3 separate regions of the Homo sapiens genome follow, and all the other regions are linked to region 1. Evidence: promoter capture Hi-C in 16 types of primary human blood cells and fetal thymus (Javierre and others, 2016). All regions are on one chromosome and are shown on one strand. The core of a region is centred on a gene start or on the middle of the fragment in contact, and the rest is flanking DNA. Distances in the headings are between cores, read along the strand shown.

The links. The method cuts DNA at HindIII sites, captures the fragments that hold promoters and counts their contacts. A CHiCAGO score of 5 or more calls a contact.
Region 2: a fragment that was not itself captured here is called in contact with the fragment with the promoter of ZNF671 in region 1 in 1 of 17 cell types (non-activated CD4 T cells); the score reaches 9.6 in non-activated CD4 T cells.
Region 3: the fragment with the promoter of ZNF260 here is called in contact with the fragment with the promoter of ZNF671 in region 1 in 2 of 17 cell types (non-activated CD4 T cells and naive CD8 T cells); the score reaches 11.3 in non-activated CD4 T cells.

The regions. Positions count from the first base shown.
Region 1 is chr19:57,725,741-57,729,520 of GRCh38, forward strand. It overlaps ZNF671 (zinc finger protein 671), which reads right to left and starts at 1,884. Exons shown (of 4, transcript NM_024833.3): 1 at 1,651-1,884. The coding sequence starts at 1,788. RefSeq lists enhancers at 1,583-2,083, 1,601-2,040, 2,181-2,230 and a silencer at 2,037-2,262. The HindIII fragment of the contact is 7,103 bases long and covers 1-2,627 here.
Region 2 is chr19:37,598,343-37,601,951 of GRCh38, forward strand. ZNF540 (zinc finger protein 540) reads left to right here. Exons shown (of 5, transcript NM_001172225.3): 2 at 34-114; 3 at 1,284-1,410; 4 at 2,668-2,763. The coding sequence starts at 106. Among named protein-coding and RNA genes, the nearest start is that of ZNF540, 5.3 kb to the left of the region's middle. The HindIII fragment of the contact is 966 bases long and covers 1,156-2,121 here.
Region 3 is chr19:36,526,647-36,530,142 of GRCh38, forward strand. ZNF260 (zinc finger protein 260) reads right to left here and starts at 1,625. Exons shown (of 3, transcript NM_001166037.2): 1 at 1,573-1,625. RefSeq lists enhancers at 922-1,632, 1,373-2,002, 1,633-2,341, 2,153-2,352. The HindIII fragment of the contact is 4,591 bases long and covers 93-3,496 here.

The DNA of each region.
Region 1 (3,780 bases), core at 634-3,133:
AGCCTGGCCAACATGGTGAAACTCTATCTAATAAAATACAAAAATTAGCTGGGCATGGTGATGCATGCCTGTAATCCCAGCTACTGGGAAAACTGAGGCAGGAGAATCACTTGAATCTGGGAGGCAGAAGCTGCAGTGAGCCAAGATCGCACCATTGCACTCCAGCCTGGGTGACAGAGCGAGACTCGTCTCCAAAAAAAAAATAAATAAATAAAATAAAACCAAAGCCAAGTGCAGTGGCTCACAACTGTAATCCAAACACTTTGGAAGGCTGGGGCCGGTGGATCAGTTGAGGTCGGGAGTTCAAGACCACCTGGGCCAACACGGTGAACGTCCCCCCCACTCCCCCGCCCCCACCCCACCCCTCCCACCTCCCCACCCCACCCCACCCCTCCCACCTCCCCACCCCCGTCTCTACTATAAATACTAAAATTAGCCAGGGGTGGTTGTGGGCACCTGTAATCTCAACTACTTGGGAGGCTGAGGCGGGAGAATCTCTTGAACCCGGGAGGTAGAGGTTGCAATAAGCCACTGCATCCCACCCTGGGCGACAGAGTGAGACTTCGTCTCAAAAAAAATAAAAAAAATAAATAAACTAAAACTAAAAGAAAACACACAAAATGAGGGTGAGATAATCAGATAGTAGCAATAGCACACCACCCATCGTTGCCATCCCAGGCCAAACTCCTCATACCCTACAGCTCTCTCCTCCTGCAAACACTGAAAAGAACCCTTTCAAATGGCAGGACCCTTCTCTTCTGGGGGGAGTCTCAAGAATGCCCACTCCCTCTTCCCTGCCCTGCAGTCCCAGCCTTCTCATCTCTTACCCCAGAGATATGAAATAACATACTTAAGACTGCCCCACTTAAATCTGACCTCCTGGCCTTGACCTACTCCAGACCGCTCCCTTCACCCCAAAGATATTCTAAGCCCAGCCCCTTCCCCACAACTTCAGACCTTCCTCTCTAGTTGCCTAAGTGAGGAAGCCTCCACTCTGAGACATCTCAAAGTCACCATTCCAAAATCCAAACGTTCATGGAAAAACAACAAAAACACCTTGCTCTTTCATGCCTTACTTTCAGTCATAGCTGCATATGATGGAGCAGAAAATCCTGTTGGTTTCAAATTTAAAACCTACCCAGAATATGATCACTTCTACCCACTCACCTGCCATTACTCTTGGTACATCCACCACCAAAGCATTCCTGGAATCCACTGCAGTAGCCTCCTTACCGGTCTCCTCGTATCCATCCTCGCAGTCCCCACCCCAAACTAATGTTCTCCCCTGAGCAAATTTCGAGACACTTAAAATCCCAGCTAAGATCACGTCCTTCTATTCAAAACCCTCAGTTAATCTCAACGCCCTCAGAATGAAGCGACAACTTCTCAGCCTGCCATTCCAGTCACAGTTCCTCAAACTCTGCTCTGTGTTGATGAGAACCCTGTCTCCCAAATGTTTGGGGGTCAGCAGCACCCCCGAGCCTTTACCTGCGCCGTCCCCTCCGCCCGTAACTCTCCCACACCCACCCACACCGAGATAGGACCCCGCCCCAAGAGTGCGTCGCTGTCCTGGGACACAGGGGCTGCAGGCACTTTACGATTCGGAGTCGGAGAAAGGGTGACTGAGGGCCCGGAGGACGCAGCACCCACCCGCGCGGAGTCCGTTAGCTCCGCCATAGGACCGTGGGCGCGGACAGCTGCCGGGAGCGGCAGGCGTCTCGATCGGGGACGCAGGCACTTCCGTCCCTGCAGAGCATCAGACGCGTCTCGGGACACTGGGGACAACATCTCCTCCGCGCTTTCCCAACACCTCCACCTGCGGCCCACACAAGCGTTACAGAACCCCGGCCAGGGACAGCCTGACAGAAACAAAATGTCCGCTACAAGGAGGAGCCGGAAGTCCCGCCCACGCACCCCCCGCAGGCACTGAAACACCCCTCTCCTGGGCCCTCATTGGGTATGCAACGTATAGGTTTGTGGGTAGAGTGTGGTTCCCACTGAGCTATCCTTCAAGGCAGGGGATTCTCGGCCTGGGCTCTTGGGAAAACTCGAAGTAGGAGGGCCAAGTTGTTTGGGAAAAGTAACCCGAGTTTCAAAGGGCTGACAGGACTTCCGTCCTCTTTTTTTTTTTTTTTTTTTTTTTTGAGACAGAGTCTCGCTCTGTCTCCCAGGCTGCAGTGCAGTGGCGCGATCTCGGCTGACTGCAACCTCCGCCTCCCGGGTTCAAGCGATTCTCCTGCCTCAGCCTCCCAAGTAATTGGGACTACAGGGGCCCGCCACCACGCCAGGCTAATTTTAGTACTTTTAGCAGAGTACGGGATTTCACCATGTTGGCCAGGCTGGTCTCGAACTCCTGACTTTGTGATTTGCCTGCTTCGGCCTCCCAAAGTGCTGGGATTACAGGAGTGAGCCATGGTGCCCGGCTGACTTCTGTCCTCTTAAAAGGCCTGGACCTAGATTCCCTGGAGTGTAGTATGCACCGATCGCAGAAATGTTGAGACATTTCAGATGTTCCCCAAAGCTGCAAAACTAAATAGATACACCACACCACAATGTCTCTTTGCGTACACTCACAGCTAGAAGCTAATAACTATTACCTTGTTGCTTTTTAAATATGTGTGCACTCAAGCTTTACAGTAACTTTTGTGAGCTTCAGTTTGGTCAGAGACGGAAGAGAAAATATTCCAAACAAGGCCTTGGAGTGGAAGAAGGAAGAGGGATGATGTGGAGTCTCCCTGAAACCAGTGGACAGATTTCTTCAGAAAACTCTTCCTGCCTGGGTAATCAGTGATGTCTCCATCACAGCAAAACACAGTGCAATTACCATTTAACCTGTCATTGTCATTGTAAGTATGGTGTCTGTGTTAGGAGGTGAGATTATCCCCGGGGGAAAAATCCTGACAGCTATTAATAATGATTCCGTAGTTATTTGAAGATAATGAAAGAAATTGCTCTAAGGAAATATCTGTGATAGATGGACAAAGTTAAGATCTCAGTAAAGTTTGAGCCTGAATACTAAAGTATAAGTGAAAGAATGAAGTTAAGCATATGGTTGTGTTGTGATCTTGACCACACTTTGTCAACAAAATGTGACTCTTTTTTCCTGAAAATGCTGAGCAATTGTAAAGAAGATATCAGAATGGTAAAAATCAACAGTGAAGTTGTGCTGTCTTGATAATTCACTGTTAAAATACACATCCAAGGAACACATACGAGCTCTCAGTAGGTGTTTTTCAAATGTGTTAGTAGCATGAAAGACATCACTAATAAAATTTCCAAGATTCCTATACATACAGGACATGTCCTGCATATAATGATTTTTGTCCTGCATCACCTTTTGACTTTGTCACAATACCCTAAATAAATATTCTAAAGAAGGCAACAGTCTTAAAGAAAAGAATTTTCAACCCGGAATTTCATATCCAGCCAAACTAAGCTTCATAAGTGAAGGAGAAATAAAATACTTTACAGACAAGCAAATGCTGAGAGATTTTGTCACCACCAGGCCTGCCCTAAAAGAGCTCCTGAAGGAAGCACTAAACATGGAAAGGAACAACTGGTACCAGCCACTGCAAAAACATGCCAAATTGTAAAGACCATCAAGGCTAGGAAGAAACTGCATCAACTAATGAGCAAAATAACCAGCTAACATCATAATGACAGGATCAAATTCACACATAACAATACTAACCTTAAATGTAAATGGGCTCAATGCTCCAATTAAAAGGCACAGACTGGCAAATTGGATAAACAGTCAAGACCCATCTGTGTGCTGTATTC
Region 2 (3,609 bases), core at 389-2,888, about 20 Mb before region 1:
CTCACTGTCTCATTTTTTTCTCCTCTAACTCAGGCTTCTCAGAACTTTGCTTCTCCAGCAGAATAATCCTGCGGAAGACTGAGCAGTTCTTGTGAGTGTAAAACCATGGCCCATGTAAGTCACAGTTTCTCTTTCCTTTTTAGATTATTTTGTTTTTAAAGATCATGTGAACATTTTCACTCTTTATGCTGACACTTCCTAAGAATTTTTTCTTCATCCCCACATTTCCAAGCTCCTCCCATGGGCCCCCTCTCTTTTCTAACCAGTATCCACATGCACATTGACCAACTCATTCAGGGTACTCAGTCTCTGTCTAGGGCAGAGATGGAACAGACATGAAGTTCCTAGAGGGGGAGGTACTTTACCATCCTTTGTCAGATCTGAGGTGTAATGAAACCAAGAATGGAATCATTTGACTACACGTAGGAAAGCACTGCAGTTTTCCACAGATCCTGTGTCTGTAGATAAATGCAGTTTAATATTGATTGGCCTCAGTTTCAGTATGTGGTTGGGGCCTGCTTATAGAGAGGCCAGGGGATCTTTCCTGAGAATCTCTGAGGTGAAAACCCATAGTAAGACGCATTTTGTGGTTAAACGGAATGTGCTAGTCTTGACATCAGTATGATTCTGGTTCATTACATCAATATTCTTAATCTCAAGAAAAAAGAAGGTGTGTAGTACTTATAAGAAAATCATCCAGATACATAAATATTAGTTAATTGTATTCTCCCAGATTTGCAGTGAGGTACTATGGCCTCGAACTTCTGAGTTCACCACTGTACTCCAGCGTGGGCAACAGAGTGAGATCTCCGTCTCGATTGATCAATCGATTGATCGATAGATAGATAGATAGATAGATAAACTTAAAGGAAAAAGAGGATATAGGATTCTTTTTTATGTATTAAGTGGTTTTTCTTAAAGTATTTATTATTAAGTAATAATTTATTGAGAATTTTTGAGGTAGAAATATAGTTTATTTGCTTGTATCCACTGTTTAATTGAATTGGGAAACATTTATTTGTTCCCAGAAATGTTTTGAGTAGTTAAAGAACCCCATAATATACAGGAAATTTTGCATATAGTGGCTGGATTCTTCAAGAAAATGAGGTGACTCTGCTTTAGAACACCTGGTTCCTTTCTTCTATCTTTATCATAAGCTTTCAGCCCCAGCCTAGAGTTTAGTATAGTACCCCTTGCTGCAATGAAACCTTTTATCTCCTTTTCTTCTTTTTAAAATACTTGTTCTGTAATTTCACCAGTAATATGTTGGTTTATGGTTTCAGGCATTGGTGACGTTCAGGGATGTGGCTATAGACTTCTCTCAGAAGGAATGGGAGTGCCTGGACACTACCCAGAGGAAATTGTACAGAGATGTGATGTTGGAGAATTATAATAACTTGGTCTCACTGGGTAAGGTCACCTATGTCAAATAATGTAGACTCTGTTATCTGAAATAGTAGCTTTCTCTTCCACAAATTTAGGACTAATTATTAAGAAACTAGCTGAATTTCTTCTCTCTTCCTCAAGGAATGGACTGAACTTTGATGGTTTGTGAATGGCACTTCCACTAAATGCTTTCATTTTCACCATACCTCACTGAGCCTCATGAAATGTTCCTTAATCCATTACTGTAGTTACTTCTTCCTTAATAGTTAAGAGACTGGATTTGAATTTTGGGGCATTTACTCCAAAGCCAATGTCAATGAAATCAGGTTTCACATTGCATTTGAGCTCAGAATTGCTATGGATGCTCTGTTATTTGGTAACATGCCTATAAGGATAACAGCCCTACCCAGGGTCTACAATTTACATGTCATGGTTCAGACCAATAACATTGATTTAAAATTAAAGTGAATGCATTCTACTTCCTAAAACAAATATTTTCTCTTACTGATTTGTGATTGAAAATTTTACCTATTGGACATTATGCTCAGTACCTGGGTGGTGGGATCAAATGTACCTCAAACCTCAGCATCACACAATATCCCCAGGTAACAAACCTGCACGTATGGCCCTGTATCTAAAATAAAAGTTGAAATTAGTTAAAGTAAAATAAAATTTATTAACTTAGCATCTAACTTTAAATGAATATCTTAGCAAGAACCTAGAAATATTTTAGGAAGCTTCTTGTTTTGCTCTAAGTAAATTAACAACAACAAAAATAATAATAGCTAATAGAGTGCTTACTATATACCAGGCATCATTCTAAGTACTAGCTACAAGATACAAAAGAAAAAAAGAAAATAAAAGGTACTACTTTTATTTTCATTTTACAGATGAAAAAACTGAGGCCCAAATAATTTAACCAGTTTGTTTACAATCATTAGTCAATAGGTAGTAGAGTAGAATTTGGACCCACATAGTCTGGCTTCAGAGGCTATGCCCTCAATAACTACTGCCTCTCAATAGAGCCAGTCTGTATGAGTTTTAATTCCAAAATGAATTAAAATTCTCCTAGATGAATTTTAATTCCCCTGCCCATCAAGTTTCTTTATTCTCTGGGATCCTGAGGTTACACTAAGTTGAATATTCTTTAATCCTGTCAGTTTTTTCCGAAGTCTTCATCGAAATCATGTTGATCCATATAAATTTAACCAAGTCTCAAAATGTTTCTGAATGTGCAATGTTTTATTTCTATATATTCTTTTATTTCTTTCTTGTAAGCAGGATATTCTGGCTCAAAGCCAGATGTGATTACCTTACTGGAGCAAGGGAAAGAGCCCTGCGTGGTGGCGAGGGATGTGACAGGAAGACAGTGCCCCGGTGAGTTGAGAGTTCATCAGGCAGATGGAAGCCCTCATTGCCAGTCACGGCCAGCTGGTGAGGGAGCATATACAGGCTTTGCATGCTGTTTAGGGAGTTACTCTCAGAGGCCTCAGGCCTTTGGAGTAAAGGTTAAGACAGGGAAGAAAACAGATCATCTGAGCATGAACTATCAAAAGAACCTCATCTTGGCTCCTACTTACCACCTGTCTTTGTTTTTGTTTCCCCTCGTATTACTCTCCATTTCAGTAAAGGGAATGCTCTTTCCTAGTGCAATCAATTGCTTCCTATCTTTTCTCCATTGACATGTGTGCTTGTTTCTAATGCCTAAAAGTTCAGTCTTTCACATATTCAGCATATATTTACCGAGTGCTCACTCTGTGCCAAGTGTTATCAGTGCCTTGGTGAATAAGGCCAAAACCTCCCTACACTAATGGAATTAACATTGTAGTAGCAGAGATACATAGTAAACTGTAAACAAATGAATATATAATATTAAATAATGATGCATGCTATGAAAGAAACCTATGAAGGGTAAAGAGATAGAGTTTGGGCAGGTTTAATTGAGGTGGGCTGCCCAGGGAAGGCTCTTCGAAGAGAGAATATATGTGCAGAGATGTGCAGTATAGGCTTAGGCCATGTGAATATCTGGAAGAAAATAATTCCAAGCACAGCAGAGAAGTGAGCTTTGTGTGTTTGAAGAACTGGAAAAGCTCAGAGCAGATTCAGAGTGGGGAAGAGTAACTAAATATGAATTTAGAGCTGAGCAGGGGCCAGGTCTTATATGGTTCTGTTTATCATAGTAAGAAATTTGGATTTTTCTTTTCCAAGAGTGATTGAAAGCCA
Region 3 (3,496 bases), core at 375-2,874, about 21 Mb before region 1:
GTAAATGTCTGGTAAATAGTTGTTATACTGTATTGTTTAGGGAATCATGACAAGAAAAAAAAATCTGTACACGTACAGATACAACCATCGCAAGCTTAACAACAGTTATGATTCATGTTTGTTGAATCCGTGGAAGCAGAGCCTACAGACACAGAGGGCTGACTGTTCATTCACTGATTCAGCAAACATATACATTTATGATTATGTGTGCTGAGAAACCTTGGTTTACAATTTGTAATGGGATATAACAAATCAAAGGATCAAACTTACTTAGAAGCCTTCTCTAAGATGTAAGTGCCTTAGAACCTGGCTAGACAGTGCTATAAATTGCTGAAACAGGTACAGAGGGGAAATAGATGGAGGCAGACTGCAGGAAGAAGGAGCCCTTTAGACATAAAGAGCTTGAAGTTCCCTGTAACTTCCAGGTGGACTGCACATTGGGCAATTAGATAATATGGATTAGGAGCTCAGGACAAGCCTCCAGCAGAAACAGACATTTATTAGTCATCTGTATTAGATGAAGCCATGGATGGCAGTGTAATGTTGTTGCTGATAGGAGTACTTAGATGATCAAGGCCAGAAACTTAGAAACACCAATAGTTAGGGGAAAAGCAGAAACTAAGTCCTGTCTTCTTTGTATCTTTTACTTTTTCTGTATATTTCAAAACTATTAACCCTGTTACTTTTTTATTTTATTGAAAAATATGTTAAGAATAAGTGTGACAAGATACTTGAATATGTTGATATGTTAAGAATAAGTGTGACAAGATACTTGAAGATAGGATACTTCTATCTTTGTATACACAAGAAAAGAATTTCCCCTATATTTACAAAAGGCTGGGGAAACCCTGATTAAATTAGGAGTGAGATTGCTGCCCTCACTGACGAACTAGGGAGTTTCTTGACCTCTGCGCTAAAGGCAGGACAAGTAGCTTCCAAATTCTGTGCCGTCTGCGCTATTGGAAACTACCTCTTAAAGATATTCCTTAGTTCAGGGTTTCTCCAAGCAACTGCACCAAAGTTTCTCCAAAGTATTAAGAAAAGTCAATGCCTACTGGGTGTACAGGCACCCAGTAACAAGTTTTTCCGAAATCTTGCCTCTTTAAAAAAATAATGGAAAGGTAATGCTGATTTTGTTTTCTACTCCACAATAGGTCTGCTTTTATATAAAAAATCACCTTTAAAATTACTTATCCGCTCAATTCCTTAGCCTTTTCCGTTTCCTATTTTCCAGAAAACGCATCTTTATTATTTTAGAAATGAGAAAAGTGAGGCTTAGAGGTTACTACCTCACAAAGCCATCCGTCCATCCTCACAAACTTGGAACCAGTTTCTCACTAACTCTGCACCCTCAACACCCCCTCACACTCTCGGTCACCCACCCGCGAACCCACCCGAACTGTACCCCTGCCCCCAGCCACACAAGCTCGGATCACCGCACATCATAGAAGGCGATTCCTCCCCTCCATACTCCCAGCCCCGTCGCAGGCACTGCAAATCCTCCCCTCCAGCGTCCCTGGCCCGTTTCAGTGTCCAGAAACCCAAGTCCCACAGGGCCGAAACCCAACTCACCGGCAGACAAAGACGACCATGGCAAGTCGGAGATTCCGCGCCTGCGCACTCCTTCCGCGGGCAGCGCTCCCAGAGGTCTCCTGGGCTGGGCCAGGCCCCGACTCAGAACCGGACGGAATCGAGAGATCTTGGCCCGTCCTCCGTGCCACTCTTTTGAGGGTAGACTACATTTCCCAGAAGGTTCAGCGGTTTGAGTCAGCTTTTCGCGCGAACTTTTCCTCCGCCAGAGCTTGTGGGACTGTCTCCCTGGCCGGGGCAGGGGTGTAAGGCCTTAGTCTTAGTTTACTCTATCCCTGGGATTGGGTAGTGGTGTAACATCAGCTTAAACACGCTGTGCTGACTTTATGTAACAGCCACGGTGCGATACTAAGCCAGGAACCCCAGGAGACTCTCAGACACGGTTCGGGAATGAGGGTAATCCCTTTGGCTGGGCTCAAGCCGGGCGCCATCTTGCTCATCGCGGGCGTGGCGCTGAACTACATTTCCCAGAAGGCGCCGCGCCCTCGGCCCCTCCCCTCGCGACTCCCGCGGCTCGGGGGAGAGCTGCACGCGACCCAGGTGCTGGCCTCTGAGCGGGTCGGCTCGGAGACTACAGGATCAGGAGGAGGTTGGAGGTGAAGCGTCTGGAATCCGGTGCGGAGGTTGAGACTGAGTATTAAGTCTGTTCAGGCGGAACGCGCCGAGAAGGGCGGTTGTGAAATTGTGTTTTTGTGAATGTATGTCCTAGCACAGTGTGTGTGTGATTGTGATTGTGTGTGACACCTTGTGTACGGATGTGGGGAGGACTCTGCGGGTGTCCCGTGAGTCCCTGTGTTAGGACTGTTATTGTGTGACTGTGTAACGCTGTGTGAGGGTGTGGGTTAGCTGTGACTGTGTGCCCGCGGTGGGTGTGTGATTGTAACTCTGTGACCATATGTTCGTTTGTGTGCAGATATAGGGAGCTTTGTACTTATGTAGTTGTGACTCTGTGTCCTTGTGTGGGAGTATGGAGGGTGGGTGCTTGTGACTTTGTGTACAGTGGTGGGTGTGTGACTGTGAAGCATTGGGTGTGCGTGGAGTTGAGACTGTGTTTGTGTGTCTTTGACCAAATGTCACACATAGTCATATGTGAGAGCAGAAGACAGCTCGGCCCCGTGATAGTAAAGGGGATTTTTCTATGACACTGAGTTTTGAGTTGGAAGCCCCAGTTTCCTCTGATAGCCCTCCCATGGCGGGGGAGGGGAACGCAGAGTAAGCTCTGGCCTTGTCATTTGGGCCCTAGGGGAGGTGTATTGTCTCCCTTCTCATTTCTGTCCTCCAAGAGAGGTTCCCCAGAGGAGAGGAAATAACGGTTGTGATATCTAAAAGCCATGTTTAAGGTGCCTTGAAGTTTTCTCTTTGTTCCTGAAATGCTTTATTTTTCCAGGACCTGATTTTTTTTTTTTTTGAGATGGAGTCTCGCACTGTCGCCCGGGCTGGTGTGCAGTGGCGCGATCTCGGCTCACTGCAACCTCCGCCTCCCAGGTTCAAGCGATTCTCCTTCCTCAGCCTACCGAGTAGCTAGGATTACAGGTGCCGGCCACCACGCCCGGGTAATTTTTTTGTTGTTGTATTTTTAGTAGAGACGGGGCTTCACTATGTTGGCCTGGCTTGTCTTGAACTCCTAACCTTGTGAACCGTCCACCTCGGCCTCCCAAAGTGCTGGGATTACAGGCATGAGCCACTGCGCCCGGCTGATTTTTTTTTTCTTAGCAAATGCCTAAAAGGACTTATCAAGTAACCTGGAATCTTCTGTTACTCTTTGGAAAAATCTTCCTAATTTTGTCTTATTAATATAGCAAATGGTTCAGTTTATCATGTATGCTTAGTTTGGTTTTACCTATATACATATGTAGATATATATGCATATACATAAATATACATACACATATTTGTATATGCACAT